4 separate regions of the Homo sapiens genome follow, and all the other regions are linked to region 1. The links are contacts of gene promoters, found by promoter capture Hi-C in human tissues and cell types (Jung and others, 2019). All regions are on one chromosome and are shown on one strand. The core of a region is centred on a gene start or on the middle of the fragment in contact, and the rest is flanking DNA. Distances in the headings are between cores, read along the strand shown. Region 1 holds the start of KCNJ5 (potassium inwardly rectifying channel subfamily J member 5). Region 2 holds the start of BARX2 (BARX homeobox 2). Region 3 holds the start of LOC105369571 (a long non-coding RNA gene). Region 4 overlaps LOC399975 (a long non-coding RNA gene).

The links. The method cuts DNA at HindIII sites, captures the fragments that hold promoters and counts their contacts. A contact is called where the count stands out against the background at its distance.
Region 2: a contact is called between the fragment with the promoter of BARX2 here and the fragment with the promoter of KCNJ5 in region 1, in 1 of the 25 tissues and cell types used here (aorta).
Region 3: a fragment that was not itself captured here is called in contact with the fragment with the promoter of KCNJ5 in region 1 in 2 of the 25 tissues and cell types used here (dorsolateral prefrontal cortex and liver).
Region 4: a contact is called between a fragment that was not itself captured here and the fragment with the promoter of KCNJ5 in region 1, in 1 of the 25 tissues and cell types used here (pancreas).

The regions. Positions count from the first base shown.
Region 1 is chr11:128,888,383-128,895,842 of GRCh38, reverse strand. KCNJ5 (potassium inwardly rectifying channel subfamily J member 5) reads right to left here and starts at 4,487. Exons shown (of 3, transcript NM_000890.5): 1 at 4,122-4,487. The HindIII fragment of the contact is 9,287 bases long and covers 3,032-7,460 here.
Region 2 is chr11:129,371,105-129,378,564 of GRCh38, reverse strand. It overlaps BARX2 (BARX homeobox 2), which reads right to left and starts at 2,717. Exons shown (of 4, transcript NM_003658.5): 1 at 2,343-2,717. The coding sequence starts at 2,529. The HindIII fragment of the contact is 19,007 bases long and covers 1-7,460 here.
Region 3 is chr11:129,301,532-129,308,991 of GRCh38, reverse strand. It overlaps LOC105369571 (a long non-coding RNA gene), which reads left to right and starts at 6,086. Exons shown (of 3, transcript XR_948174.3): 1 at 6,086-6,134; 2 at 6,251-6,310. It overlaps LOC105369572 (a long non-coding RNA gene), which reads left to right. Exons shown (of 3, transcript XR_948175.2): 3 at 1,485-1,667. The HindIII fragment of the contact is 3,938 bases long and covers 1,298-5,235 here.
Region 4 is chr11:129,270,268-129,277,727 of GRCh38, reverse strand. All of the region lies in intron 1 of LOC399975 (a long non-coding RNA gene), which reads left to right. It also overlaps a transcript of ARHGAP32 not described here. Among named protein-coding and RNA genes, the nearest start is that of ARHGAP32, 82 kb to the right of the region's middle. The HindIII fragment of the contact is 6,553 bases long and covers 148-6,700 here.

The DNA of each region.
Region 1 (7,460 bases), core at 3,238-5,737:
CTTAGAAGCCTTCCCTGCTCCATAAGAGCAGCCTGCCTTCGCCCCGGCGATGCCTGTGCCTCTCCCTAAGGGCGCGCAGCACGGATGCTGGAGTCTCTCCAGCAGCTCTGCCCGCCCCCAGGCAGTGGTCTGAGAGCTCAGAGGGCAGGCAGGCCCGGTGTGGAAGATCCCCCTGTCTAGCTCAGGTGCCTACACAAGGTCTGGCCTGTGTTAGGAGCTCCCTACTCATTTTTGAGGGAGTTCTTCTGGAGAAGGACACTTCACAAAGCAACCTGACTTGGCCGGGGAAGCCTTCATACTGTGATGTCCAGTGGGCTGGTTCCTGGGGCCTGACACCCATGGCTTCTGCTGGCACTGCTGGACAGCCCCCTTGCTGAAGCAGAAGCAGCACCTCCCACTGCCCAGGGTTCCAGGCACCAAGTGCTCAGCAGTGCAGTCATCCCTGGGGTTGGGGGGGGGGTGGGGGCACACTCTAAGGGGAAGACACAGGTTTGGTCCCAGGAGGCATCTGAGGTCCTCTTGGTTCTTGCACTGCACCCCACTCCCATTTTCCTTTCTGAGCAGCAGGAAATAATGTAGGATGATGGCATTGGACCTCCCTGACTGTAAAGTCGGGTGCCTGAAATCTGGGAGAAGGTGTAGGGTGAGCAGTACACCCAGCCCCGGACCGCCAAGTCACAGGGGATGAGAATGAGACTCCAAGTTTGCTCTCTCCTTCCCTCCCCAACCCCTCCATTTCTCCCCCACCCTCACCCTTTCCTGTCCCCCATACTATCTGGCCACCCTATTGATTGATCCCTGGTGACCAGGAAGTGCCGTTGCCACCTGCCAACTGTTCAGATGATCCATGACCTTTGCCCTCAGCTTGCTCTGGCCTGGAACGATAATGGAAGTTAACATTTTAAGCACTAGCCAGGATCTCCAGGGTCACATATTAAAGCTTTGGCTCTACCATTTAACTTAGCACGGCTCTTGGCAAGGGTTCCCGCCATCCTGGGCCCTGTTGACTAGAATAGCTCCCTTATCAGAATGTCAAGGTAGGAGGAACTAGATAAGCTGCTGCTGCACAGGCAGGGCCTTCAGAGGCAGCCGCTCACGCCAGCCCTGGCTGGCAGAATGTCAGAAGTGGAAGCTGTCCACTCTGTTTTAAAACAATTCCAGGGAAAGCCACTTCACAAGTCTTTTTGAGAAATACACTCAGGTATTCTTACTCAAATACCTCACTACAATCTTTTGAACTGGAACTCCCATTCTTCTTGTTTTTTTCTTTAGAAAATAAAAACAAAACACAGAAAGATTCCTTCGTGGCTGACGACTATCTTAACAGTTATCTGATGACAGATCCGCACTTGGAAACACTGCCAGCCCTCAATGACCTGTCTATAGCTCATACACAGTGAACATTTTCATCCAAAAATGGCCCCTTTGAACTACCTATGGATTCCCTGACCCCTGCCTTCTCTCCACCATCCTTCCACCTCCAGCCTAAATAGTCAATCAGTATTGGCTCAGAAAATGTGAGTGTTTGCTAACATTCTCCTAAACAAAAAGCATAACGCTGCCCCAACGATCACATTCCAAGGTTTTCAAAAATTAATGATTGCTGGCACATGATAGGTGACCAAATGAATGGTTGTTGAACAAGAAAAAAAAAAAAAACAATGCAGAAGTGGATGCAGTTTTCAAGTACATGAAAGCACAGGACACCTGTTTGTGGCTTCGCCCACCGCAGGCAGGAAGAATCAGGTCATTTGAAGGGGAAATGGAAACCAGAGAATGGGCATTCTAGTCGTTTCTTCCCTCCTTGGGGGTTTACTTCATCACGGATGACTAGAGCAGCCTTCAGAGTCTCCCAAATTCCTGGACAAGAAACCCAGTCAGGTGCTTGCAGAAAGCCCCAAAGGGATTTTGCTTGGCACCAGGGACAGCGAGGCTGAGTACTGCTGTGACAGGGCCACACACGTGTCTCTGCTGGACCCACAGACAAAGAGCTCTGCACTGCTCAGGACTTGCCAGCAGACTCCAGGGAAGCCATGGTGGGGAACCCCACTAAGATCTGACTTCATCCCAGAGAAGACAGCTAAGCTTTGGGGACAGCCCTGGGCAGAGTGAATGTGGCCCAGGTTCGCTTTGACCCCCCCCCTCACCCTTGGCTCCTCCTTTAGCTGAACTGCTCACTGGATAGAGCACAGGCAGGCTACTTAAAAAATGCTGCCTGTGAGTAATGCCGGCAGTTTATAGCAGCTTTTGGAGAGGCCAGAAAACAGCCATGCCTGAGTGGCTGGTTCCCTTTCTGTTGGAGAGCTAGGTAGTAGGTCTAGAACGTTGTTCTGGGGACAATCCTTGTGCTTTGTGGAATGTATAGGCAAATTTTCTATCCTTTCTTTTTCTTTTTTATTTCTTTTTTTTTTGAGATGGGGTCTTGCTATGTTGCCCCAGTTGGTCTTGAACTCCTGGGCTCAAGTAATCCCCTTACCTCAGCCTCCTGAGCCAGCAATTTCTCTATGTGTTGTTTCCTGTCTTTCAATGGTGGCCCTGCTGCTGCTCTTCCAAGAAGCACATACGCTGTGCCCCAGGCCTCCCACTGAAGGCCTTATGCCTCTAGGCAGAATGGTGCCATCTCAGGTGGGGTCCATAGATAGTTTAAAATACCAGCCAAGCTGACCAAACTCTTTATGCCAGAGTCCAACCATGGGCCTCTAACTCCCACATCATTTGCTCTGCCCTGTTCGTTCCTCAGATTCCAGGAAGCCTGAGCGCCTCATTCAGCCAGATGATGCAATTTACACCTGGCTTTGAGGAAAAGCAGGGATGTGGAAAGACAAGAGCAGCTTTCAGAATTAGCTTTTGTTAGTGGAAAGACCCTGGATTTAAAGCCAGAGGACAAGAGTTTTGGAGATAGCAGTGCTGCTGCCACTTAGTGCCTGGAATTCTGTTACCCTTACTCTCATCTATAAAACAGAAGAAATAAGCTCTGCCCCACAGGACTGGTGTCAAGATGAACTCATGTAAACGTATATAGCTCGGCACCTTGGTTTCATAAATATTAGCCTTTTCCTCACATGGAAAAGTGCTTTGAGAACCAGAAAGCCCGATAAACCATATGGCTTTTGATGAAAACGAGGCACATTTTGGAGTCAGATATAGGAGAGAATCTCCCTTTATGAGCTGTGCACCTGAGGCAAATTGCACAGCCTCTCTGGGCTTCAATTTTTCACCTGTAGAATGAGGATGATAATCTCAGCTTATTAAAAGGATTGAAACAGAGTAAAATACTTGGCGTGTTCCTGTTGATCTTCTTCTGGTGTTTGAAAAGGCTCCTGGAACAGGTTTTGGGCTGGTGTTGCTCACCCTGATGTTCAGGGTAGGCCCTAGAACTTTGGGGGCCGGACCTGAGGCCCTCCACAGCCCCTGGGGTTGGAGAGCCCTGTTTGAGGGAAGGCACAGATAAAACCAGGGGGCCAACAGCTCTGCAGGGAGAAGCACTGACTTGAAGAGAAGGGGAGCAATGACAAGGCCGGCCTTCTCTGTTCCCTATCCTCTGTCCTCACAGGCTTGACCCCTGGCCTTTCTGAACCATTTGAAAGCTCTTTAAAAGGAGATAGGGAGGTACGCAGGAAGTGACTTGGGCAGCGAGGGGGGCAGAAATCACAAGGCCGTGTTTCCAGTTTGGCCACACTTAAAAGAGAAAGCAAGATTAGGCTGGGGATCTAAGGCTGAGGGGGGCACCGCCCCCCATCCTGGCCCTCCCTGCTCCCATTTGAAGGAAGAGTCCTACCAGGTGAAAAATGTCCTCCACACCCCACCCACTCCTGGCCACTGTTGCCTCTCAAACCACTGCTGGGAGATCTGGGGCACCCCCAGGTAGCCCTGGTCTAGTGCCAGAAGTGAAGGTGTTTATGGCTGGGCTCCCAACGCACAGGGCAGCCTGCAGCCACGGAGATCTCCAATTTCCTAAACTTGGACCTGCCCTAAGCTTTTCCTTATCCCCCCTGGCTCCCAGTCTAGCAGGTTCCCTGTGAAAGCCTGCTGCCCAGGTGATGGACACCTGAGGGTGTCATCCTGCCCTCCAGAACCCGCGAGCTGGGGGAGAAATGGAGGAGGAAAAGAAGACAACTTACTTGTTGAGATCGGAGCTTCCGAGTCCCACTGATGCTAACTTCTGGGGTGTCCCTTAGCGGCGGTGCAGGGGGGCTCAGGGCTTTTGAGGGGACTCCCCAGCCCCTGCCATGACCCCACGGAGGAGCTGTAGCTGGAACCTCTCCCTGTTGTGGGGTCCTGTGGGCAGAGGTACCTAAGCCATCCTGTCCCTTCACTCGCGGCCCCTTGGGTCACTCCCTTTCTCTAGCGAGAGCAGCTGGAACAATCTCTCTCTCTCTCTCTCTCTCTCTCTCTCTCTCTGTGTGTGTGTGTGTGTGTGTGTGTGTGTGTGTGTGTGTGTGTGTCCCCTCCTCCCTCTCCTCTCTCCCTCCGTCCCTGGTACAAATGAATCTCTGGGTAGTAACGCGACTGGAAGGGCCACCGGCGTTGGCGGCGGGGGGCGGGCTGGGGTGGGGCGGGGGCTCCATGTGATCCGGGACGCCGTCAGCTCGGCAGGACTGGGAGGGAAGAGGAAGGCGGAGAGAGAGCCCGGCAGGCATCCAGCCCTCCGCTCGCGTCCCCGCGGCCCCCTGCGCCCTCCCCCGGCTCCCCCTGCCCCCGGCTGCACCCCTGCTGCGGGGTGCCAGGGACGGAGACCCGCGCGCGCGCGTGTGAGCGTCCCATGCCTGTGTGTGAGCGCCGCGTGTCACGCGTGTCCGTGTGTGAGCGCCGCGTATTTAGTGGGTGCGGTGGAGCAGACAGAAAGAAGGGAGAAACTATTAGGGCAGAAATCTTGGCTCGGAGCCTCGGCGGGGCTGCTCAGTCGCTCCGCGGTGCGCTAAGCGGACGGTTGGCAGCATTTCGCCGTTTCCCGAGAGGGATGGAGCAGATGGGGGGATTCCTTTGGGAAGGCGGGGGAGCCACAGTCTGGGCGCTGCATCCCCCGCCCGACGGCTCTGATTCCCGCCGTGGAGTGAGGGTCCGGGGGCCTGATCCGCCAGCTGCAGGGGGAGTAGGTCCAGGGACAGGACCCAGGCTAGCTGTCCCCGGGCTCGCTGCTCACCCCGGACGATCTCTCCCCGGCGTGCGGCGGCGGCTGGGCGGCGATGGCTGGAAACGCGCCCTGCACGGACAGGAGGCGGGAGCAGCCCGGAGGGAACGGAGCTCAACCTTGCCCAGGCGTGGGCAGAGCCGGCGTCCTCCGCGCCACCTCCCGGCTCTCCCTTTTGGATTCCTACCTGCCTTGAGGACAGATGATGACCAGAGTGTGTTCTTTAATTCGTGGAAGCCGTAGGAAAGGCAGCTGCCAGGGCAGGCTGAAAGGGAGGGCTGCTGTCTGGGGAGGGCCGGCAGGTGCCTCTGAGGACCGGTCTGTTCGGGGTGGCCCTTCTCACCCGGTGGTGTTCCTTCTGGCCCCTCTCCGTTACCCAGCCTTTTGGGGTCAACACCCCCCCTGCCAGCCCCCTCTCTCAGGGCAGACACAGCTGGTCAAACGTGGGGTGCCCTAGCACCTAGCACAAGTGCTAGGTGAATGATGTCTACGACCAGAAAACTGGTTTATTACGTTGCAATGAGAAAAATGCTTGTCACTAATACTGGAGGGCACCAAGTCCATCCTCTCCTGTAAGGACAGTGACAGGGAAACTTAGTCTCTAACAGTGGCCTGGGGGTCCTCTTGCCTCGGAGACCAGCGTACACACAGCCCGTTGCCCAGGCACCCTCCCCTGGGACAGAGCACAGAGCGGTCCGGCCAGAGTGGGCCTCCTGATTGCCCCTCTTCTCTCTGTAGAGGGGGTGATTGTTAAATGTGGCTGCAACAGGCCCTAACAGGAAAGCTCTGTGTCCCCTTAGGGGACTCAGCTTGCCTAGGTGCTCACGCACTGCACCATATGTTGTTTGACCTCAGGGCTTAACACTATTGTGGAGAAAGTTCTTAATTCCCTAATTGCCTAGTTCTTGGGAGAGGCTTTGGCTGTGCAGTTCTCAGGTCCAGATAACACACACTATAATCATCTGCTGAGCCCTGAGGAGGGGCTCTGTCCTGGGGCAGCAGTTGCTTTTGGATTAGGTATAAAGACCATGATATTCCTTTTGCCATTACGGGGTGGGGGTCAGGGGACCTGGACTGACTTTAAAGCAAAATATAGGGTGCTCTGGGAAATACTGTTTTGCAAAGATTTTCTCAGTGATGGGACCTTGGATCGGGAGACAGAAAAATTTGTGTCCAGGTCTCACCTGAGAACTGAAAAACGCGAAATTTGGGGATTCTAGTCCTGAGCAATTGTTGCAACTTGGAGGAGCTTTGAGAGGCCCAAGCCTCTCAAAGAGCACAGACAACATCTGAGGATAGCAATGCAATAAAAGAACTACTCAGGGAGCGGTACAAGGTGCTAAGTATGTCTTTCATTGTCTGAAAATTGCTGAGGCGGTGCTTGAAAGCAACAGAAAATGTGTATGTATTATCACTGTTAATTAGAGTACAGCCTCACTTCTTCTGTTCTCTTTATCTGCTTCTCTTACCTTCTTTCATCGAGCGGGAGATGGGTTCACAATTAAAGATGTTCTCTTTAGAATATAAGACTTGCAGAAAATTATTTTTTTCTCCTATTTATAGAAGTTATATTTGCATTAGGAGCCTGGTAATGTCTCATAAATATTTCCTTTTAGATAAAATATTAATTAAAGGAGTTTGTTGAGTTATACTCTGAAATCCTAACTAAATAGCTTCTAAAACAAATATTTTAAGCATTTTTTCTCATGTCAGGAGAATTCTTCATACGTCCATAAACAGCAGATATCTATCGAGTAAGGACATATTATTTTGCAATATTTAACATAATACTGTAGCTGCTACCCAGTTTAAAAAAACAAAACCAGGCATTGCCAACACTGCCAAATCCATGTGAGATTACCTCCTCTTCCCTCAGGAGAGAACCAGCCACCTGAGTTTGGTGTTTCTCTTTCCCATGGCTTTTAAAATGCTAAACAGACACACACACAAACACACACACACACCCCTACACCTACACCTACTCAGTTAGCGAATGTTGACTGTATGTATTTTTATGTCCACACACTCTCTTGGTTGATAAAGGCCTACTATGTTTGAGACACTTTGATAGGTGCTATGAGAGAGACCAAAAGGTATAATGGTGGGCTTTGATCTCAAATGTCTCACATCTAACAGGGAAGGTGGCATGTCTGCGGGTGGGGGGAAGTCAGCAGACAAATTAACAGCATAGGATTTTAATTCCTAGGTGTTAATTGGGAGCTGGTGTGGAATTGACAGGAATGCTAACACAGCTCGGAGAAGAGGAGCTGGGACTGACTTCTGACGGCAAGGCTACGCAGAGAAGGAAGGTCTGAAGGACTTAGGGAAG
Region 2 (7,460 bases), core at 1,468-3,967, 480 kb before region 1:
AGAAAAAGAAAAGAAAAGAAGAAAATTACAGTGTCCTTTGGGATGCCAGCAACTTATTGTTGTTGTTTTTAATTAATAAGAAAAAAGATTACATTCATCTAATCAAAGATTTTTGTCCTGACCTTAACTGTTAAAAACAAAAATGCTTTGAAAGTATGGTATTTGCAAAACCCCTGAGAAGACACTAATGGGATTCCCATGATCTAATACATGTAAGGCTTTAACTGTAACTGTAAACCCACTGAAGGCTTATGATCTGAAAGTATGAACTATTGTAGCCAGTTTTTATGGGTTTAATTCCACCAGCAAATCCCAGTTTCTATATTTTAATTCTCAACTAGAGCAAAATAACGACACATTTTCAACTAACAATCCGAAAGAAGAAAGTACTGGAATAACGGAGCCAGAAAACCATTGCCAACAGCCACCCTCTACCACGAACCATCAGTGAACTTCGAAAAGCACAAGACTGAGCAACACTTAAGTCTGTGAAATACGTGCATTTCACTTATAACACTCACAAAACTACATATGAATCATTTTTTTTTCCTCTGATTTATTTCCCACACAAGGTTCAATAAAACACGACACTTACTCAGCCACCTCTGACTGAATGACTATTCTCTGCAGCTATTTATTACTCCTCTTCTGCCACGTTTTCTTCTATGATCCAATTCTGTGACTCCTATAAGCCAGGAAAAGCTGCCTTCAAGTCAACACAGCACAAAGTCACTGAAAATTCTGCCGGCACTAGGCTCTACCTAGGTGCTTAGAAGTTGTTCTGTTTTGTCCTGGGAATGTCCCATACGCAATGTTAATGACTGAAACAGATCCTCTCTTTTTCCTCGAAGGGAATTGAGTTATTATAACAAAGGATGATTTGTGCTCAAAACAATATTCAACTTATCACCCCTATTCAGTATGTATGTGTCCAAGGGTCCACAACCACCTATACACAAATGTAAAAATATCAGTTCTCAGGAGATCTATCTTGTTTCTAAAATTTCTTATTTGTTCCTTGTTTCATATATTTCTTGGTTTTAAAAATTCAGTATTACAAGGCTTGTTATGGGACATCAGGCCTAATTCTACCTTACAGACAAATTAACTTTAAAAAGGCATAACTGAATACAGTATACATTTTACAACCAAATACATGTAGGAACAATTTGGTTTTAAAAGAACTTCACTGTATGTATTTATCATATGTTTACTGATTGTCATATAGGGACTATCAATGGAACCAAGAGAAAATACAGGATTCCACGCATTGAGCATTAACAACTCAAATGTTCCAAAAAATATCTTCCAAAACTGTTGGCCCTTCATTTTTTCATTTTAAGTGTAATTTAATTTATCTCATGCCTCTCATGCAACTAACAATCTCAAAGGTTCTTTTGGTTTGGAAATACTTTATGCTTACCTTTAATGGAAAGCACACTCAATAACTTTTTTCTGATAAAAAGTGCTCCTACTTCTTTTTCGTTTTATTATACCCATGTTCCATAACCTAAATCCTAACAATGCCGAGATACTTTGAAACTTGGATCTTCTCTTAATGCATTCAAAATTTTAAAAGTACCTTGGATTTATTTTCGATAGAAACTCTACTACGTTTTCAATATATGTATTAAGTTCTCTTTATCTTTACTATTGCTCTTACCTCCCGTGAAGAGAGAAAACCAGGTGTGAGTAATGTTTTCATTGTTACCATTGCTGGTTTTGGTCACTTAAGACAAACGAGGGTGACCTTTTCGGCTTGACTTAAGACAAACGAGGGTGACCTTTTCGGCTTGTGCCACAAAGACAATGTACTTCAGAACTACTTTCTCAGAGGGCGATCATTGTAAGCAAAGCTCAGTGAATTCGAGATTTTGTTGAGAACCTCAGGATACTGATTTACTTGCAAAATTCACAGTGGAGACAGTAGGAGGCTGGACAAGTTAACTCAAGGTGAGATGCAAGGCCGCCAAGCTCAAGTTTGAAATTCACACACACCACCACTTCCTGAAACAACGATTTAGACGCTGAACCTGCTCAAGTGTTTGAACTTTCAGCAGGAAACGAGGAAGCGTTCTCCTCCGAGCAGGACAATCAGGCGTTGCGCGAGCAGCCCACTCCTAAGGCCCTGCCGCCTTTATTTCCACTCGTGCCATCCACACCTTGCGTGGTCCTTCCCGGCCACGTCGCAGATGCCTTTGCAATGCCCACCGCTTGCTGAGGCGCAGGAAAAGAATCCCTTAACTTAACCCTTCCTCTCGCCCTCGGATCGCAAAGCACAGGCCACCTACACGGACGTGAAAGCTACCGAACCCCACTTATCCCCTAGCGGAGCGTCTTACCCGTACAGGAATGCAGGGGCTTGGGTCGCACGACCAGCGACGGGCACACGGAGTAGAGGGAAAGTTTCTCAAAGTAATCGCAGGTCTCCTTGGAGAGGATCTCGTCGATCATGAAAGTCTTGTAGCGCCGCCTGGCTGCTTTGAGCTGGCCGGGCGAGCTCAGCCTCAGCTCGGCGTGGCAGTGCATGGTGAGCCGGCGCGAGCGTCCGCCGGCCCGAGCGCGGCTGCGAGTGCCCGGCCCGCTGGGGCCGCGGGGCTGGCGCGACGGCGGGGCCTGGGCCCCGCTCCCGGCAGCTGGGGAGGCGGCGGGGCTCGGGTGGCGCGCGGAGGAGAGCGGGTAGCGGGCGCGCCTGCCGCGCGTCTAGACCCACCCGCAGATCAGCATCTTCGCTGAGCCTTTTTGGGACAACGCAGCTGTCAATCAGCGCGAGCTTCCTGCAGGGCCGGGTGCGGAGTGTGTGCTGAGGGGCGTCCGCGCCCACCCCGCCCCCGCCCGCCCGTGCCACTCCGGCGCCGACCTGCGCGCCTAGTGCCCGGCGGCTCTCAGTCGCTGCCTCCCGCTCTGGTGTCTCGCGCTCCTCTGCCTGGCTCTCTATTTTAAGACGCTCGTTTTGGCTCTCCTCCCCCTCCCCCCCGGGACGCGCTCCAGGTGTGTGTGCAGGAGTGTGCGCGCGGTGCGGGGAGCGCGCACCGCCCCAGCCCGCGGCCAAGGCCCAGGCCGGTAGCTCCCCGGGGCAGTGTTCCCCATGAGCACCTTACTGCCTGTCCTGCCACCCGCCGGCCCGGCTCCCAGTGTCCGCAGCCCAGCGGGAGGGCACGTTCAGGTCTCTTACTAGAAAGAAGTCTAGTCCTCACTAGGCTCCCGGGACTTCGGGCCACAGAGCCAGTGCCCCCGAGGACCCACCGTGCCTTTCTCCTTCCCCGCGTGGACGGTTTCCCGAAGACCGCGGCTTCCCAAGCCCTCCACTCGCAGTCTCGCAGCCCGCGCTGAGCCTGCGCGCTCCGAGCGTAAGACTTTTGAGCTGAAGTTGCAAACTTGACTGCCCCAAGATCCCAAATCATAAATGACCCTGGCCCCGTCCGTTACCCTCATAAAAAACTGAGAAAAAAAAAAAGATAAGAAAAGAAAAACTAATAAAAGTGTGAGTTATCGCCGGGCGCGGTGGCTCAAGCCTGTAATCCCAACATTTGGGAGGCCGACGTGAGACGATAGCTTGAGGTCAGAGGTTCGAGACCAGCCTGGTCAATATAGGGAGACCCTGTCTTTACAAAAGAAAAATTAAAAACAGGCATGGTGGTGCACGCCTGTAGTCCCAGCTACTGGAGAGGTTGAGGCAAGAGGAAACCTGTAGTCCCAGCTATTGGAGAGGTTTAGGCAGGAGGAAATCTTGAGCCCAGGAGTTCGCGGCTGCAGTGAGCCGGGATCTCGTCACTGCACTCCAGCCTGGGCGACAAGAGCGAGATTCTGACTTTTTAAAAAAGTGTGCGGTTTTTTTTAAAACATTGTTTATAAAAACATTTTTTCCTCGTTGGAAAGGGTCAGAGCTGCACGATTCTAGGGAGCCGGCGGGCACTGGGGCAGCCTGTCCCATGCGGGCTTCTCCCAGCGCCCGAGTCTTCCGGCAAAGGGGCTTTCAATATCCGGATCCCTCGCGATACGACCGGGTTAGAGAGTCGCGAAGACAGGCGTTTATTGGGTGATTTGCCTTTTTCTTTCCAGGCTCTTAGTCTTAGGGTCTGTTCCAATCAAAATCTGTACGGACTTTAGTTGTTCATTGGAATTGCTGCGTAAAGGGGACCCCGCCGAGCCTCCGCGCCCGGGAAGCCTCCGGCAGCCTGAGTCGCGCCCGGTGTTCGGCGGGAACAGCCCAGTGCACGCCCGTTTCCACGACTTTATGTTGGAATGAGTGTGCATGGGGTTGGAAGGAAAACGCACGACAGGGACACTGAGAAGTATAGACGCGGATGGCCTTCCCTAGGGCCGAGTTTGGGGCCGGTGACATTTCCTCCCCGCTCCCAGCCTAGAAGCGTCCGCGAGTGCCGGCGGGCTCTCTGCGGAGCTGCTTGCCCAGGGGGCCCTGGTGGCCGCGGAAGCAAGTAAATGAGGGCGCCTGGGCCGGTGATTAAACTAGGAGGGAGGGACACGCCCAGAGGACTAATCATTAGGCTGTTAGAGAAAATAGATTTTTTCTTTTTTTTTTGAGACCGAGCCTCACTCTGTCGCCCAGGCTGGAGTGCAGTGGCGTGATCTCGCCTCATTGCAACCTCTGCCCCCCAGGTTCAAGCGATTCTCCTGCCTCAGTCTCCCGAGAAGCTGGGATTACAGGCGCCTGTCACCGCGCCCGGCTAACTTTTGTATTTTTTAGTAGAGACCAGGTTTCACCATCTTGGCCAGGCTGGTCTTGAACTCCTGACCTCGTGATTCACCCGCTTCGCCTCCCAAAGTGCTGGGATTACAGGCGTGAGAAAATAGATGTTAAGAGGCCAAGTCACAGCCTAGCATTAGACAAGGCCCGCAACGCGTCTTTGAGGAACTTCATTCCCGAAGTATTTGCAAACTGGCCTCCCCTCCCCTCCTCTCCATCTAGAATTGTTTTCTTTCATTCTCTTTCTCCATGCAGAGGCGGCTGCAGGGCAGGCGAGAACTGCTGCCAGGTGTCCGGGTGGCGCCGGGGGTCCTGCCGCCGGACTCTGGGGTCTACAGGCTGGCCCCAGGCGCGCCCCCTGCTTCCGCGGCGGGACCCTGAGGCTGGTCCGCGGTCAAAGCGCGGGACCCGGGACAGCTCACCGCTCAGCCCTGGCATCGCCGTCCGACGCCACGACGGAGGGGGTTCTCCCGGGCGCAAGCCGAGAGGGAAACCGCTGCGCCGAGTCGGGGCTGGGTCCCAGGGGCTCAGCGTTCGCTCCCGGGGCAATGCCGGGCGGGGAGCTTTAGGCGCCCCGAGGAAAGTGAGCCGCTGGTAGGCAGCCGCCAGTAAACTGAGTGCTTGCGGGCGATCTCACCCGCAGCGCCGACTACGAGGCGGGCTTGGAGCTGGGGACCAGCACCTGAGCGACAGCACCAGGACCCGACGCCCGACGAGGGGCCGAGCGCGTCGCGTCTATACTTTCTATCTGCCCGGCGTGTGCCCACAGAATGCGGCACTATTCGGGGCCCCGACTTTGCATTGCTCTTCTTTTCCTTAACCTCTTTTCTTCTCTCTGGTTCTTCCCCTTCCTTCCACCGCCACTGACTCCTCTCCTCTTCTTCCCTCCCACTTCTCCCTTCCCCGCATTGCTCCCCGCCCTTTGGGCCTCTCCTCCTCTGTCGAATTTCCCGCTTCTGTTTTCTCTCTTCTGCCCTCCCTTCTCCCCATCGTTCATCCTTGTTTTCTCTCTCTCTTTTTAACTTCCCTTCTCCTCCTCTCCTTCTTCCCTTTTTCCAAACCCGGGTCTGGACTCGCGTTCGCGTGTTCCTGGTCGCGGTGCTGCCCCTCGGAAGGCTGCAGGCGGCTCACGCGCAGGGACAGAGCCCAAGCCCGGGAGGGACCGGCCTCGCCTTGGCTGGCCGCGTCGCCCAGCGCTCTCACTCCTCTCCGCTTCCACTCGGCCACAGGCACAAAACTCACAAAATCCAGACACTCCCGCAGACGAGTTCTTTGATTTGAAATCTGCAGTGTTTTAATAGGTGAAGAAGTAAAAATTCCAATTCACCTCCTTGGATTTTCCATCTTTTCTATTTCGCGCTACAGAGGCAAGAAATCTCAGAAGGGGTCTGCGGGCACAAGTCCCCTGTGCAGTGGAGAGGGAGAGATGCCCGATCTTGGAGTCTAGAGCCTTGCGCTCTCTTTTGCTCCCTAAGCTGAGCCTCAGTTTTTTCATTTGTAAATGGTGACCACAAAACCTACTTCACAAGGATGGGCTTTCATAATCCATGCCTTTATACAAGTTTGTTCCCTTTCACTGGAATGCCCTTTACATCCTATCCCCTCCTTCTCTGCCCCAAAACCTAGAGACTTATCTCAAATGTCACCTCCTTTGTGAAGTGTCTCCCCACTCCCCAAGGCTGCCGATTCCTACTTCTGTGGTGGCATATCCTATACTGTATTGTCTTTTGCATGTTTATTTCACTCACTGGACAATGACCAGGTGGGCCTACGCCCTATGTTATATTATTCATTTGTATCACCAATACCCATAAAGCACACAGTGGGTTCTCAGTAAATGAGTCATGAATAAATGAATGAATGGGAAAATAATATGTTAGATGGGACATCAAATCTTAATTAGTTGTACTCAGTTTGTCTTTCTCTTTAAATGAGCCTCTCTCATTTCGGGTGTTTAGCAATGGCATCTAGCCCAATTCCCTTTTTGCCCCCCATCTCCCTTTTCTTTTTCCCACTCACTCTTTCCTGCTTTCAGACTGTAAAGGGCTTCTGTGGGAGGAAGCACACCCCAGCTGTCAATCATGAAGTGGGGCTTTGGTCAGAATAGTGAGGGGTTTTGTTTCCAACATTAATGAAGTGGCTGGAACAGCAAACATCTGCCAACAGGACTCAAACCTTTTCCAGCTGCTGGAGACCTACAGACACTTCCCAGCCTCCTGTGACTGTACCCAGGCAGCGTCTGCTCCTGCACCCTGGGGTGGAGGAGTGGGGACACACCACACACGGAGGAACAGGCGGGTATGCCCTGAGCCACACATAGGCAGACATGGAAAGGATAAAAATTCACACCCTCCATGGAGCTTCAGGGGAAGCTCCAAACCCCCAGCCCCTCACACTCACACCCCCATTCTAGCACCTGATTCCTAGGGACACAGCCCAACCAGAGAGAAGGGGACAGGGACATCTTTGCCAAGTTAGGACTGGAAACTCTAGATTTGGTTGCTTTGCTTTCTGTCAACTGGAAACCAAAGAATTTCCTCTTTAACATTTCAACTCACACAAGGCATCTCCACTTGGTTAGAACTCACGAAGTTTAATAAAACAAAATGGTTTTTAAAAATCCTAGGGTGACACTTAAGTTGCTTCTAGGATCTAAGTGTAGATGATCTTGGCTTGACTTTTAATTTAACTCTCCTTGTGTAATTTTGGGCTATGTGTCGATAGATATAGATATTCAGAAGCAGCCAGGACA
Region 3 (7,460 bases), core at 2,017-4,516, 410 kb before region 1:
CTACAGTCTCCTTCCCTTCTTCCTACGTGCTTAAAATGACTATTTTCCTCGTTTTCATACCAGTTCTACTTCTGGAGCGCCACCTGTTGTGAAGCCCTGTCCTTTAGTGGGGCCCCAATCACAGTATCTCTTGCTAGATCCTTCTTTCGAGGGGCTGGACTTTGCTCTCGCCACCCCCAGCCCCCTTGCTGAGATCCTGATTCATCCATTCCTATCATCTGGAATACCTGCTGCCTCCCTGATGTCAACCATCTTCAGCATGTCTCCACTGCCTGTCCCCAGTTTATGTCTGGATTTATGCCCAGTTCAGCCGGGGATTTTCCATGCAGCGCTGCTCCCTAGTTTAGACTGTGGGCTCTTTCTGTGGGCCATGGTACTGCTGGGGTGCTTTCTGTTGGCTGTCTTACCCCATGATCATTTAAATCAAACTGACTACACATCACAGCCTGCTGTTTCTTGAGAAAAAAATTGCTCGAATCCCACTTCCATCCACACCCTACATTCTTGGCTATCTATTCTGACTGTAATTCCTGCCTTTGGCACTGCCCAAATCTGGCAGTCTTCCTTTCTCCGTCCTCTTTGGACCTTGGCTCTCCTCCCCACTTTCTGGCTGGTTCACCGTTCTTCCTGGTATTCTCACTGTCTCAGGGGAGAGGTCTGTATCATGCTTCCTGGCCCCTCAGAAATCCTCATTTCTTCTTCTGGTCAGCCCTTGTCATGTCTCAGTCCTCGGTCTTCCATCTTCTAACTCCCACTATGGTTTGAAACCTACTTTTGTGCATTAACAGGAGCATGATGCATGGGTAGGTTGCTTAACTTAAAGAGTCAGGAGGGAGAAGAGGGCAACTTTTAGTTTTGGCCTCATCTCAGCCCAATTTCCTCCTCCTTCCTCATGGACAAGTCCATTTTTGACTATTTAAAAACCTGTAGCGGCCAGGATCAGTGGCTCATGCCTGTAATTGCAGCACTTTGGGAGACCGAGGCAGGTGGATCACCTGTGGTTAGGAGTTCAAGACCAGCCTGGCCAACATGGTGAAACCCCGTCTCTACTAAAAATACAAAATTAGCCTTGCATGGTGGTGCACACCTGTAATCCCAGCTACTTGGGAGGCTGAGACAGGAGAATCACTTGAACCCGGGAGGCCAAGGTTGCAGTGAGCCGAGATCGCGCCATTGCACTCCAGCCTGGGCAAAAAGAGTGAAACGCCATCTTAGAATAAATAAATAAAAACCTGTAGCAAATATGCAACCATATATTCAGTTATATGCATATTTAAAAAAATGAACCCTAAACCCAACTATTTGCTTATCCTCCCATAAATTTAATTTTTGGTTGAGAAAACATAATCACTGAAGGTGTATGTGGCAGAGACTGTGCAATCGAATCCTGTACACGTCCTCCAATGTCCCAGCAGCCTCCCTTGCAGTTAGGTGATGTAAACTATGGCTGTAAGTATCTTCTTCATCCCTCTCTCCCGCTGCAGTGACCTTGATAGCTACAAGTGGAGATGGATCTTTGAGCTATCAGATGGAAGGCTGTCTCTGCAGACCCACACTGGATTCTACATAAATAAGAAGTATAAGTGTAACTTCGTTGTGCTAAGTCACTGAGCTTTTCGGATTTGTTTGTTATTGCAGCATAGCTTAACATTGCTCTGACTAATGCCATATACAAACCTTAAACATGTGCAAGGGTTTATTTCTTCATCTGCCCACACCCAAGAATTGCTTTCCTAAAAACTTAAAATGTATATAAATTATATGTGTTTATTATGGAAAATTATGAAATACAAATAAACAGAAAAGAAGAAAGTAAAAATCATCTATAATCCTCTTGGTCAGAGTTATCTACTGTTAACATTTTCATGTCTACACATCATGTTTTTTCTATGTATATAGAAATATAAATTTATGTATATATGCACATAAACTTATATGTGTGTTTACATATTATTGTAGAACCTACTTTTTTTTGAGAGAGGAAGAGAGCGTCTCTCTCTGTCACCCAGGCTGGAGTGTAATAGAGTGAGCACAGCTCACTGCAGCTTCGACTGTCTGGTCTCAAGCAATCTTCCCGCCTCAGCCTCTTGAGTAGCTGAGATAGCTGAGACTACAGGCATGCACCACCATACCCGGCTAATTTTTGTATTTTTTGTAGAGATGGGGTCTTGCCATGTTGCCAAGGCAACTTCTGGGCTCAAGCTGTCCGCCCGCCTCGGCCTCCCAGAGTGCTGGGATTACAGGCGTGAGCCACTGCGCCTGGCCACAACCTACTTTTTTATTTGACAAAATATTCTGTTAATTTTCTCAAAGCAATAAATACTATTCTAGAACTCAATTTTTTTAATTTTTTTTTCTGAGACAGAGTCTTGCTCTGTCGGCCAGGCTAGAGTGCAGTGGTGCGATTTCACTGTAACCTCCCCCTCCCGGGTTCAAGCAATTCTCCTGCCTCAGCCTCCTGAGTAGGTAGGATTACAGGCTTATGCCACACATGCCAGGCTAATTTTTGTATTTTTAGTAGAGACAGGGTTTCACCATGTTGGCCGGGCTGGTCTAGAACTCCTGACCTCATGATCCACCCGCCTCAGCCTCCCAACATGCTGGGATTACAGGTGTGAGCCACCGCGCCCAGCCTAGAACACAATTGTTAATCATTGCATAGCACTGCATTATGACAGCACCATGATTTATATACTGTTAGACAGTCTACTATTTTCTTCTACTGAAATTGCTGCAGTAACATTTCTACTTCTTTTCTACATATTTTATCACTTACTTCCTCTCCTACTCACAGACCAACTCTTAATCATCGACATTCATAGAATGCAAATGAGGTAATCCAAAAATAATAAAAATGTTCATGAAATTCACAGTGTGATCATTTGGATGGGGAAGGAAGAGGCAAAGTTTTTGCAGTGCATTCATCCTCATAATCGTAATGACGATTATCAAATTTTGGGTTTCATTCTGTGTAGTAATAACTGACTTGGCGGTTGCAAAGGAGATGGTACAGTAGGTAACAATAGGAAGCTGCTTTAATTAGCATTCCATGAGGCTGCAAGAAACAAAAACAACAATGAACTCAAACTTATAGTAGCTTAAACAAAGACAGAAGCTTATTTCACTCTCAGATAAAAGTCTGGAGATAGACATCCCCATATCGCACTCCCTGGGGTATCAGAGACTCAAGCTTCTCCTACTTATTCCCTGTGGATTTTTTCCATTCCCAAGGTCACTGAGCAAGATCTGAAATGATTGCTCTAACTTAAACCATCACATCTATATTCCACCCAGAGTAGAGGATGTAAAGAAAGACGAAGAGAATGTCTCTTCTAAAACGCATTTTTTTGGAGGTTGAACATACCAAGTCTAGTTAGACACTTGGCCATATGTGGGTCCAAGGGAGGCTGGGAAATGTTGTCTTTATTCTGAGTGTCCCTGTGCCCAGATAAAAATTGGGGATGCTGGGCCGGGCGTGGTGGCTCACGCCTGTGATGCCAGAACTTTGGGAGACCGAGGCAGGTGGATCACTTGAGATCAGGAGTTTGAGACCAGCCTGACCAAGATGGTGAAAGCCCTTCTCTACTAAAAATACAAAATGAGCTGGGCATGGTGGTACACGCTTGTAATCCCAGCTACTCGGGAGGCTGAAGCAGGAGAATTGCTTGAACCCAGGAGGTGGAGGTTGCAGTGAGCCAAGATGGCATTATTGCACTCCAGCCTGGGTGACAGAGTAAGACTCCATCTCAAAAAAAAAAAAAAAAAAAAAAAAAATTGGGGATGCTCTTGCAATAGGAGAAGGGAAGAACGGATATTGGGTGACAACCACATATCGCTGACATAAGAACCACCAGGTGACTTATAATGCCCACAGGTAAATAATTCAATCCAGCTTCTGATGGAGGAGGATCCAACAAAAGGAAAATATCTATTACATCAACAATAAAATGTAATCAAATTTTCACAATGAACAGATGGACTAAAAAAAAATACACATTCGGTACTTTAATTCCTGCTGGATTTCTGAAATCAGCCAGCTCCTTCTGAATGAACATGTGCTAAAGAGAAGGGCAGCTGATAACCTCTTGAGCATCTTAATTAGCACTGGATTTCATCAGAATGGTGCTGTGTAATACATCAGAAGCTGAGCACAGCAGATTCCAGAACACCTAGGTCTAACTGCCAAGTCCCTCAAATAAAGCAAGTGAGAAGAGCAGGCCATATACGTAGGGGGAGAAAGCTAGTCACCTTCACGCTTCCAAGCTTTTGCTCTCGTGGCTTCAGCTCCCTAGAATCCGTTGTCTCTTCTCTATGTGAAGAAGTGCTGCTCTGCCTTCTCATTATTTATTTATTTATTTTTTTTTTTGAGATGGAGTCTCGCTCTGTCGCACAGGCTGGAGTGCAGTGGTACCGTCTCGGCTCACTGCAACCTCCGCCTCCCGAGTTCATGCCATTCTCCTGCCTCAGCCTCCCAAGTAGCTGGGACTACAGGCGCCCGCCACCACACCTGGCTAATTTTTTGTATTTTTAGTGGAGACGGGGTTTTACTGTGTTAGCCAGGATGGTCTTGATCTCCTGACCTCATGATCGGCCCGCCTCAGCCTCCCAAAGTGCTGGGATTACAGGTGTGAGCCACTGTGCCCGGCCTCTTCCTTCTCATTCTTGAAGAAACTAGTCAAATATTTCTTGGGATGCCTGTTCTTTGACCCTTTAGTTTTGTGTGTCATTCATTCATTCATTCATTCATCAAATACTGATAGAATCTACCATGTACCAGGCAATGTACTAGGCATTGTGGGGTGGAGTGGGGAGACTCAAGGACAAACTAGTTAAGACTGTGGCCTCAGGCTGCATATAACACTAATTCAATTAGATTTGTTTAGTCAGACAGCCCAGCACACTGGGGCAAGGGCTAGTAGCCCCGATATGCTGTGCTCTCTGACTAAACAAAGAATAGATAGCTCCAAGAGGGCAGAAACCTGGTATTTTAATTAGCACATATTTACAGAGCTCTCACTATGTGCCAAGCACCTTTCTGCTCTATGTGCTTAGAGTATATTACTCTTCTAAATCTTACGACAATCCGTGAGTGTGTACCCATCCTCACCCTATTTTGCAGATGGTGAAACTGAAGCATACACAGGTTAAGTAATTTGCCTAAGGACATGTGGCTAGGAAGCAGTGAATGTAAAACTGAATACAAGGAGACTGGCCCTAGCGTGCATGCCTAACTCATATTCTTCACTTCTTTACTATTCACACTTTTCTGCATTTCCAGTATTGAATAGGATGCCTGGGATCTCGTGGTTATTCAGTAAACGTATGTTGAATGGAAGTGAGCTGGCTGCTCAACACTGGCCAAGTTATCCTCTCTGAGCCATAATTCCTACAAAGATAAAAAGAAGTTAGACTGGAAGACCTCTACGATCCCTTGAAATTCTCAACTATGGAATTGTAATTTTTTTCCTTATTCATAGCCTAAATAATCTTTTAGCTGAGGCCGGGAAGAGATCTTGTGGGATCATATGTGGAATTCTGGATTTTAGCCAGACTTCCTCCATAGTAACTAGGTGAGAATTCTTTTAGTTTATCAAATCCTTTAAGATGTCCCACCTTTTTGAAGCTAAGTAGTAGGTGATTCACAGATTTTATGAATAATGATGATAGACAAGATATCCAAAAAGTTTCTTCATAAGGTGGAAAGGTAAACTGCTTTCCTCCTGCATATACACCAGTTTGGTAGCAAAGAGTATTTTGGTAACACCTTATTTCAATTTTAGTAAGATTGTGTCCTTAGCCACAAAGAGGTATCTAAGAGTGGACACTGTAATATTTCTCAGGCCAGTATTCTTTGTAAATATGGCTACTAACAATGCATCACCTCCAATAAACTGCTCTAAATTACTCTTTCAGGTTATGCTATTGCATGACATTGTTTCCAAAAGACCTAAGCGTGCAGTGCCAGGCGTTTGAGCAAAGGGCCAGAAAATCCCCATGATCTGACCAAATGCCAGTTTAGGTCATTATACTTTGGCCAGTTCTCTCCTCCCTACGGTGTCAGTTGGCTACTTTAGCCTTCACCACCCAGCGCATGCTGCTTGGTAATCACTGAGTTGGCTGGACTGTCTTCTCTGGTGAGTACTGTTCAGAAAGGGGCATTGAGTTGGGCTAACACTGACTGTAGGGAATAATATTGCTGGTAATAAGCTTCTCTAAGCTGAAATCAACAGAGGTATTATTTTCTCCGTAGGGCTGAAGTCAACAGGGAGCAGGACTGTATACTCTTGCATTTGAGGATTTAACCTACTGCGTATGTTTTTGACTATTTGCTTGACTTTGAAAGTCCCTGATGTAATGATTTATCATTTTGCTGAGGCAGGGATTGAACACAAACACTGTGAGAGTGGCAGAAAGTTCACAGTGAGTCACCTCACCAGCTAGGGAGCCTAGTCAACCACCTTGCATCTGGGTATGTCTCCACTTGGGTATCTAATATATGATTTCTTTTAATTTTCTTGACAGCCTTGTAAGACTCTTATTATTATCCCCATTTTATGCATGAGAGAATTACATGTTCTAGTGCTGCTCACACATTTAAAAATATTTGGAGATCTAAGAATGTTTTTCCCTTAAAGGTTTATTTTGTGGGAGGAGGGCTGGAGGCAAACTTAGGTAGAGAGATGTGAATTCATAGCACACGCATCATAATCAATGTATGGGGGGTTCCTCTCTTGACTGACAGATTGATTTCTTCCTTCATCCCCAATCTCTGCTCTCATTCTCTTCCCTTATGAATTCTTGCAAATGATCCATATAAATACAGAATTCAATATGTATGTGTTTTTAATTTACATAAATGACATTGTGTTTACATCTCATTCTCTTTCTTGCTTCTGAAACTCAAAACTATGATGTTAATGCCCATCCAGGTCACTAAATGTGTATCTAGTTCAATGCTTTGAATTGCAGAGTATTATTCCATAGTATGCATGCCTGATATTTTATTTAAATGTTTCCCTTGCTGTGGACACCAGGATAATTTCATATACATATATATGATTATTACTCTATGTAATATATGTTGTATATCTCCTATCTATATATGTGGGATTGATGTCATAGCACATATGTACATTCACTTCATTAAGTACTGCCAGATGGCTTTCCAAGTGGTTGTACCTGTTTACACTCCCACCAACAATCCATGTCACATTCTTGATATTATTCACCAAAGTTTTATTTGAGCTGATTTACTGATTTTCTTAAGTCTTTGTATAGTGGAGCAATTAACTGGAAATCTTAACAAAAGAAAGGTAGGAAGGAGTTAGGTGAGCTGTGACTTTCCTGGCCCCCTCCTCAATAATTTCCCTCTCCCATTCTCCTCTCCTGTCCTGTGTTCCTTATTCCTTTCAAATTGTTCCAGAACCTGCTACAGGAAATTACTCTGAACTTTCTCCCTG
Region 4 (7,460 bases), core at 2,175-4,674, 380 kb before region 1:
CTTGGAATTGGATATATGGTGATGCTTCATAGAGCAGGTGTCTCTATGGAAATGTCAGGTTGGAATTGTGTTTAAGCCAGTTATCTTCGTACCGTGGTCCCTATAGCAGTCCGTGTATAAAGCAGCACTTTGGACAGAGACTTGTCTGGACACAGCTAAGGTGGAAGCCCAGTTTACTGTATGATCGTTCACATTGAGGTGGGTGACAGGGTGAAGTAGTGGGGGAGAAAAACATAAGTGGGACAGAGAGGAAATGTTAGTTGGAAGAACCTTCTCCAGTTATGTAACTGTTTTGTTTTCTAGGGAGAGACTAAGAACCAGCAAGACAGGCTCAACTGTCTTCTTTAGAGCCTTTGATGTTGGTTTGAATTCCAGTAGTTATGTTCCTTCTGTGTTCATTTCCTAACCTCCGTATCATTTTCCAGTCACCAAAAGCTTTTCTGAAGTTGGCCTGCGACACTAATGGCAATACATTCATCTCTACTTTCTCTCTCTCTCGGTGCTATATAAACGATGTTTTTATTGTTGCTTGTTCTCTCTTGACTTATTCAAGTGTTTTCCTTCCCAAGCTGACCTGAGTATATTATCTGCACACTGTATGTTGATCGTAGACGCATGTAATAAATGTTAAGGACTAGGCATCTGTTTTCTTCATAAGGCTGTGGTAGCAGAAGAATGAAACAAAAAGGAACTTAACATAGTTGAACTTTTAAAGAGTAAGACTAATATTCTTGAGAATTTTTCGGATTTAACCCATGATTGTGAAGTCCAATGTCCATGGAAGTAGTCAGGAGGCAGCAAGGACTTGAAGTTAGGTTGTGGTTGCAGTTCTGCCCCATAGTAGCTGTGTGACAGCGTACCTTCCTTGGACAAGTTATTTACATTTCTGAGCTTGTTTGCATTTTATAAAATAGGGATCAGAAGGCTTGCATTGTTTTTCTTACAGAGCTGTGAAGGATCAGATGATAGAAAGGATATGAAAATGCTCTGCAGAACTGTTTTTAAATATGTAAAGTATTGTCATTACGTATAAACTTAGTTACTAACCTATGTTACCTGGTAAATTGGCCTAGCAAACTCTTTTAAATGTTGTAACAGAAATTTAAAAAACATGCATATAAAGGCTGGGCAGGGTGGCTTACACCTCTAATCAAATGCTTTGGCAGGCAGAGGTGGGAGGATCCCTTGAGGCCAGGAGTTTGAGACCAGTCTGGGCAGCATAGAGAGGCCCAGTCTTTACAGAAAATCAAATAAAAACCATTAGCTGAGTGTAGTGGCACACACCTGTAGTCCTGGCTACTCGGGAGGTTGAGATGGAAGGATCACTTGAGCCCAGGAATTAGGGGTTACAGTGAGCTATCATTGTGCCACTGCCCTTGAGCCTGGTCAACAGAGTGAGATCCTGTCTCAAAACAACAACAACAACAACAAAAACAGATAAGGAATGAGAACGTGTTAGATTTCTTCTAGTTCCAAAATTCTGTGCTCTGTCTTATTTAGAAAATCCACCGGTAGTACTTGCAATTTTGAACTCTCTGGAATTTTCAATTACTTGGAGACAGATCAAATTTATTGAGACTGTGAGCTACTGCTGCTGCTGCTTTTTAAAATTTAATAGAGTCAGGGTCATGCTATGTTGCACAGGCTGGCCTCCAAATTCTGGGCTGAAGCGATCTTCCTGCGTTGCCCTCCTGAGCAGCTGGGACTACTGGCCTGTGCCAAGGCTGGACAAGACTTTGAACTTCTTTAAAGTATCAGTTCACAATACCAAAGGAGGTTACAAGTTAATGATTTGTAAGAACTGTTTAGTAAAAAATATTTTAAATTTGTCTGCATTATTTAGGGAAGGGATGGGCAAACTGTAGCCTGCAGGCCATATCTGGCCCATGGCTAAGAATGATTTTTATATTTTTAAATGGTTGAAAACAATCCAAAGAAGGATAAAATTTCATGTCATGAGAATGATATAAAACGCAAATGTCAGTGTCCTTCAGTAAAGTTTTGTAGGAACACAGTCGTTCATTCTTGGGTCTGTGGCTACTTTGGCAGTGCAGCAGCAGAGTGGAGTACTTTCATAGCTCGGCCTGCAGAGCCTCAAGTATTTATTATCTGGTTCTTTAAAAGAAAAGTTTTCCAACCCCCGATTTAGGACTTAACTTTTTTTTTTACTTTAATTAGCATATGTGCTATTTCCTATCATAGCCATTATAAGGTTAAGAATCCTGGAAAGGTACTAATTTTTGTTTTGGAGCCAGATAGACTTGAGTTCACATACCAGCTATGATATTTATAAACATTGATCCTGGACAAACTAATTAATGTCGTGGGACCTCAGAGATTTCCTTTGTGACCAGGGAATATCAGTAGTATCTACCTTGGAAGGTTGTAGTGAGGATTAAATGAAATGGTACATATTAAGGCTTAACACAATCTCTGACATACAGTAAGCACTCAGTAAGTGATAGATGATGATGATTAGAAACTCTAACCTGAAAGTATGCCTAAAATATTTTATATTACCATCACCTCCAGATTATAGAGTTATTTTCCTGAGTGTTATGCTGTTTGCTATAGAATTTTCTCCTTTGCTGAAACTTAGTTAACAGCTGATAAGCGGAATAACTTGAGAAATTTCCTGTATGCTGTAGTGTATTTTTATTAATCACTTGCTGACTTCAGATCATTAAGAATGGGTGGAAAGATACTTCTGTTTTTTATAGATCCTGATTCTTGATAATTTCCCGATAATGTTCTTAAGTTTATAAATTGGATTTAAATACCACTTCTATTTTGGTACTGGTACTGGCTTTTTTTTTTTTTTAGAAAGATGAATGAGAAAAGTCGGTTTTGATTAGGCCAGGGTTGGATAATTTTCCCCATATGTATATGTACTCTAAAGTCTTCCTTATGATTTGCATTAACATCTTTATGGCATGCTTCTCAGAGTTGAAATAATAAAAGCTAATTTTTTTTTTCTAAATAGATCTAGTTTACTATCCAGAGACTTTTATATTACACTGCTTTTTGAAGTATTTGATTTAAATTATCTTACAGTTGAGAAATTTGGTGTGCCTCTCAACTTCAAATGCTGGTTTATTAACATTAATCTCAAACTAAGAGTGAGCAAATAAAAAAGGCCATTGTTCTGAGTTAAACAAAATAGAATTGGGGTCATTGTGGCTCTTGCAGTTCTACAAACTGTACAGTTTCTTGGCCTTAGCTGATGCTTCAGTGAAGTGAGATGATCCAGAGGAGACAGGGGAGGGCACTGATGTTCCCACGCTGTCCTCGGTGGAACAGTGAGATGGAGGCAGAAGGGCTCTTCCACAAAACCAGGGAACAGCACCTGGAAAGGTGTTCTGATTATAGCACCTCAAAAAAAGTAGACCTAAAGAAGATGAGATGCGACAGAGTTTTCTCTTGAGGTTAAAAAACAAACCAAACCAGACGTTTCCTATCTGGAGAGATGAAGCTTGAGCAGGAATATTCCCCAAGGTAGTAAAGTGTAAGGATTTTATAAAGTAGATATTTTCAGTTTTACTGGACAAGGGAGGGCTAGTCTTGTATTTAAAGGAGATTGTTGTAGGACAAGTAAGAGGAAGTGAGAAATGGGTGTTTGGTTTAATTTCTCATGAGAAAAACATGAATCTGAATGTTCAGAATAGAAGTAAAATTCTGGCTTTCAAAACACAGTTGTTTTTTTTTTTTTGCTTCCGGCTATGTATCTATTTACTATTTTATTTTATATCCTGGATTATAATATACATAATATTGGAGGCTGTGGAGATGGAAAGCATTGAGAGGAAAAGCATGTGTGAACCATTCATTATGGAAATGTTATGTCCAATTTGTCTCTGTTTGAAAAGATAAGCATCATACTCTAGGAGAGAATCTTCTAGAAAATTCTATCAGTTTGCCCTAAAAATAGTAAAATCCTTATTTGGATTTCAGCCTTGTGATGTGAAGCAAGCCATTTGACTCCACTGCTTTTATTCCCTGTGTGTAGCATGGAAACAGTAATTCCTGTTCCTCCTTTCATTGGAGAAATATAGGTGGTTGAAGGACTCTTAAGATGAGTAGCATCTTCAGTAGCTGTGCAGAATATATCATGTGAAGTTCAGTAATTACCCAGGATATCAAACACAGACCAAAAAAGTGAAGCAACTTTTAACAGGAAAATGAGTTTTGAACCTGGAGTCAAGAGGACCTGGATGTTTGTCTTGGCTCTGTTGTAAACAGCTTGTGACTTTGGACAAGTAATTTCTGTCTCCAAAGGTCCAGTTTCCATTGACCTACCTAAGGAGAATCTGACAGACCTTCCTTCTTGTTTTATATTCAGTGGCCCTCCAGATTAAGTAGGAATAGCAATCCTGACACAGTAGGATAAGGGAAACCACATCTCTTTGTATCTGTGAACTGACAAGTATCCACTGAGTACATCTGTGTGTCTCCTGCCATGCTTCAAGCAGTGGAAGATAGATAGGTAAGAAGGTGTCATTGAGTCTTTGCCCTCAGGAGGTGTTCATTTCATGGGGAGACAAACTATTTTATGAAAAGGAATATTATAAGTAAGCAAGGAGATAGTGGAATGATCTGGCAGTTTGAGGACTTGTGATGTACTATTGGAGAGGATACTTTGTAGCCTTGTGACCTTGAACATGTAAAATGGGCTTTGTAGACTCCCTCCAACTCTGAAATTTGGTCATTCTGTCTTTGATGGAGAAGCAGCAGCTCTGAATCAACCTGTTGGTAGACAACCCAAGTAAGAACTGCTCAATTAAAGCCAGATTTTTACACACATTCTGCGTAATTGATTTAGTAGATGGAAGGAAAGGTTTACTTTAATTTACTAGAAATGCAATCAACGGATAACCCTTCTGAAAAATAAAGCGTGCGAGAAGTGACAAGAGACCAAAGTGAGCTTGTTCCTGAGGCAGTACATTTGTGCCTGGATCTCATTTCTTCTTGCCTACAGGTCTTCTATTCTAGCAGTTTTCTTTCCTAAGATATCATTCTCTCTTTACTGAATCCTCTTTCAGTTAGCATCCATGCCTTTTGTTACTTGCAGCAGTGATAGCTAGTTGTCTACCCAATGCCATTCTCTGTGGCTTCCTTTTAGTATATAGGATCCTCAGGGTTTATCTGGGCACATGTTGGCCCAGCTAGAAACTGCATTTCCTAGCTTCTCTTTTATAGTTGGATGTGGACTAAATTCTGGCTAAATGGATGTGGACATAAGTGGTATGTGTGATTTCTGGGTTGTAGCCTTAGAAAGGAAGCTAATCGTTTTCTATTTTCTCTTTATCCCCTTTTGCAGATGAGAGTGTAGGATGTTAATGCACTGATGGGGCATATTATTCAACCTGCAAAGGTGAGGGCAATACCTTAGCGGGGGATGGATGAATAAGATGGATTTTTAGATGATCTTGTGGAGCAGAACTGCCTCCTAGCCTTGTACTTCTCATTTATCTTTGGGTGGTTAGGTGAGAGAGGAATAAAGTTTTATCTCTTGAGCTACTGATGCCTTAAATGAATAAATCACACCTTTTAAACCACCTTTACCTTGGGATCCCCTTCATTTACATTTATTGTCCTTTTTTTGTTTCCTTTTGCAGCAGAAATTTCAAGAGTTGTTTATATTTGCTGTACCTTCTTCTTCACCAGTGATTCTTTAGCCTGATCATTTGAGCTCATCATATGAATTACTCTTCCTGCCAGTGACTTCTTCCTCTCTCTCCCCCAAGTCTTTACCATTTCAGTAAGTGGCATCATCAGCCACCACTTGTGCAGGCCAGAACCCCTGGAGTCATCCTTATCCTTGATTTCTTTTTTTAATTGCACTCCAATGAAATTGTTTTTAATCAAGACTGCAGTGACCTGGATCTTGCCAAAGCTAGTGGTCAGTTCAATGTTTGTATCTTATTTGACCTCTCTCACCAGCATTTCACAGTGGCCAACTTTACTAGTTTTGACCTCTTAGTTGTTCATTCTCATTTTCTATATGCTTTTGCCAGTTTATCTCTACTTTCCCACTCCTTGAAAATTTGGAATGTCCCTCAGGTGATTTCATCCAATTTTTGGTTTCAAATACCATTTATATGCCGATGAGGCTCAAATTCTTATTTCTAGTACTGACTTTTTTCCCCCTTGCGCTCTAGACTCTTGTAACTCCATGCCTCTCCTTGGATGTCTAATGGATACCTCAAAGGCAGCATGAACAAAGGAGGGCTATGAATTACTCTTCCTGTTGGTGACTTCTTCCTCTACCTCCCCCAAGTCTTTACCATCTCAGTAAGTGGCATCATCATCCACCACTTGCGCAGGCCAGAACCCCGGATTCTTCCTCCTCCTTGATTTCTTTTTTTCCTCCTCATCTCATGTTAAGTCTGGTCACCTCCACCTTTATAATATAAACCGAACCTGACTACATCTCACTTTTTTCACTGGCAAAAACCTAGGCTAGGCTAGGCTAGTAGGCTTTGTCGTCTGGCAAACTGCCAGCAGACTTCCCTGCTTCTACTCCTGTCCTTGTCCTTCCCCTCATTCTTACCATACACGGGAGCCAAAATAATGTTAAACGTTAATCAGATCGTATCATTCTGCTTACTGGCTTTCCAATATACTTAATGCTAAAACAAAAACTTAACATTTTACCGTGGAAATAAACCCTTCATTTTGGTCGCTTATGAGGCTCCATATCAGTGGTTCTTAACCAGGGAAGATTTTCCCCTCAGGTGATGTCTGGAGACATTCTTGGTTGTCACAAATTGGGGTAGGTTGCCACTGGCATCTAGTGGGTAGAGGCCAAAGTGGCTGCTAAACATCCAACATCCAGTAATGCACAGGACAACTCCCAGCAGCAAAAAATTATGTGGTCCAAAATGTTTGTAATGTGTGATATGGCTCCTGGCTGCTTCTCTGCTCTCATCTTCTGCTCTCTCTTCTTTTCTTCTTTGTTCACTGAGCCACAGTCTCAGTGATGTTCCTTTTTTTTTTTAAGTAGACTATTTTTACGTTCACAGCAAAACCGAGCTAAAGGTGCAGAAGTTTCCTGTATACCCCTTGTCTTTACACATATGCAGCTTCCCCCATTATCAGCATCCCACATCAGAGTCGCATATTTGTTACAGTTGATGAGCCTACATTGAAACATCATTATCACCCGAAGTCCATAGGTTACATTAGGATTCACTCATTTTTCCCACTTGTTCTGAGAGGAGAAAAAAAAAAAAGACTGACTCTTGGTGTTGTACCTTCTATGGATTTGGACAAATTAATAATGACATGTATCCACATCATAGTATCTTATAGAGTAGTTTGACTCTGCTGAAAATCATCTGTGATTTGGCTATTCATCCCTCCCTCTCCCCAGCCCCTGTCAACCACCAGCCTTTTTACTGTTTCCATACTTTTGCCTTTTCCAGAATGTCATATAGTTAGAATCATAGAGTATGTAGCCT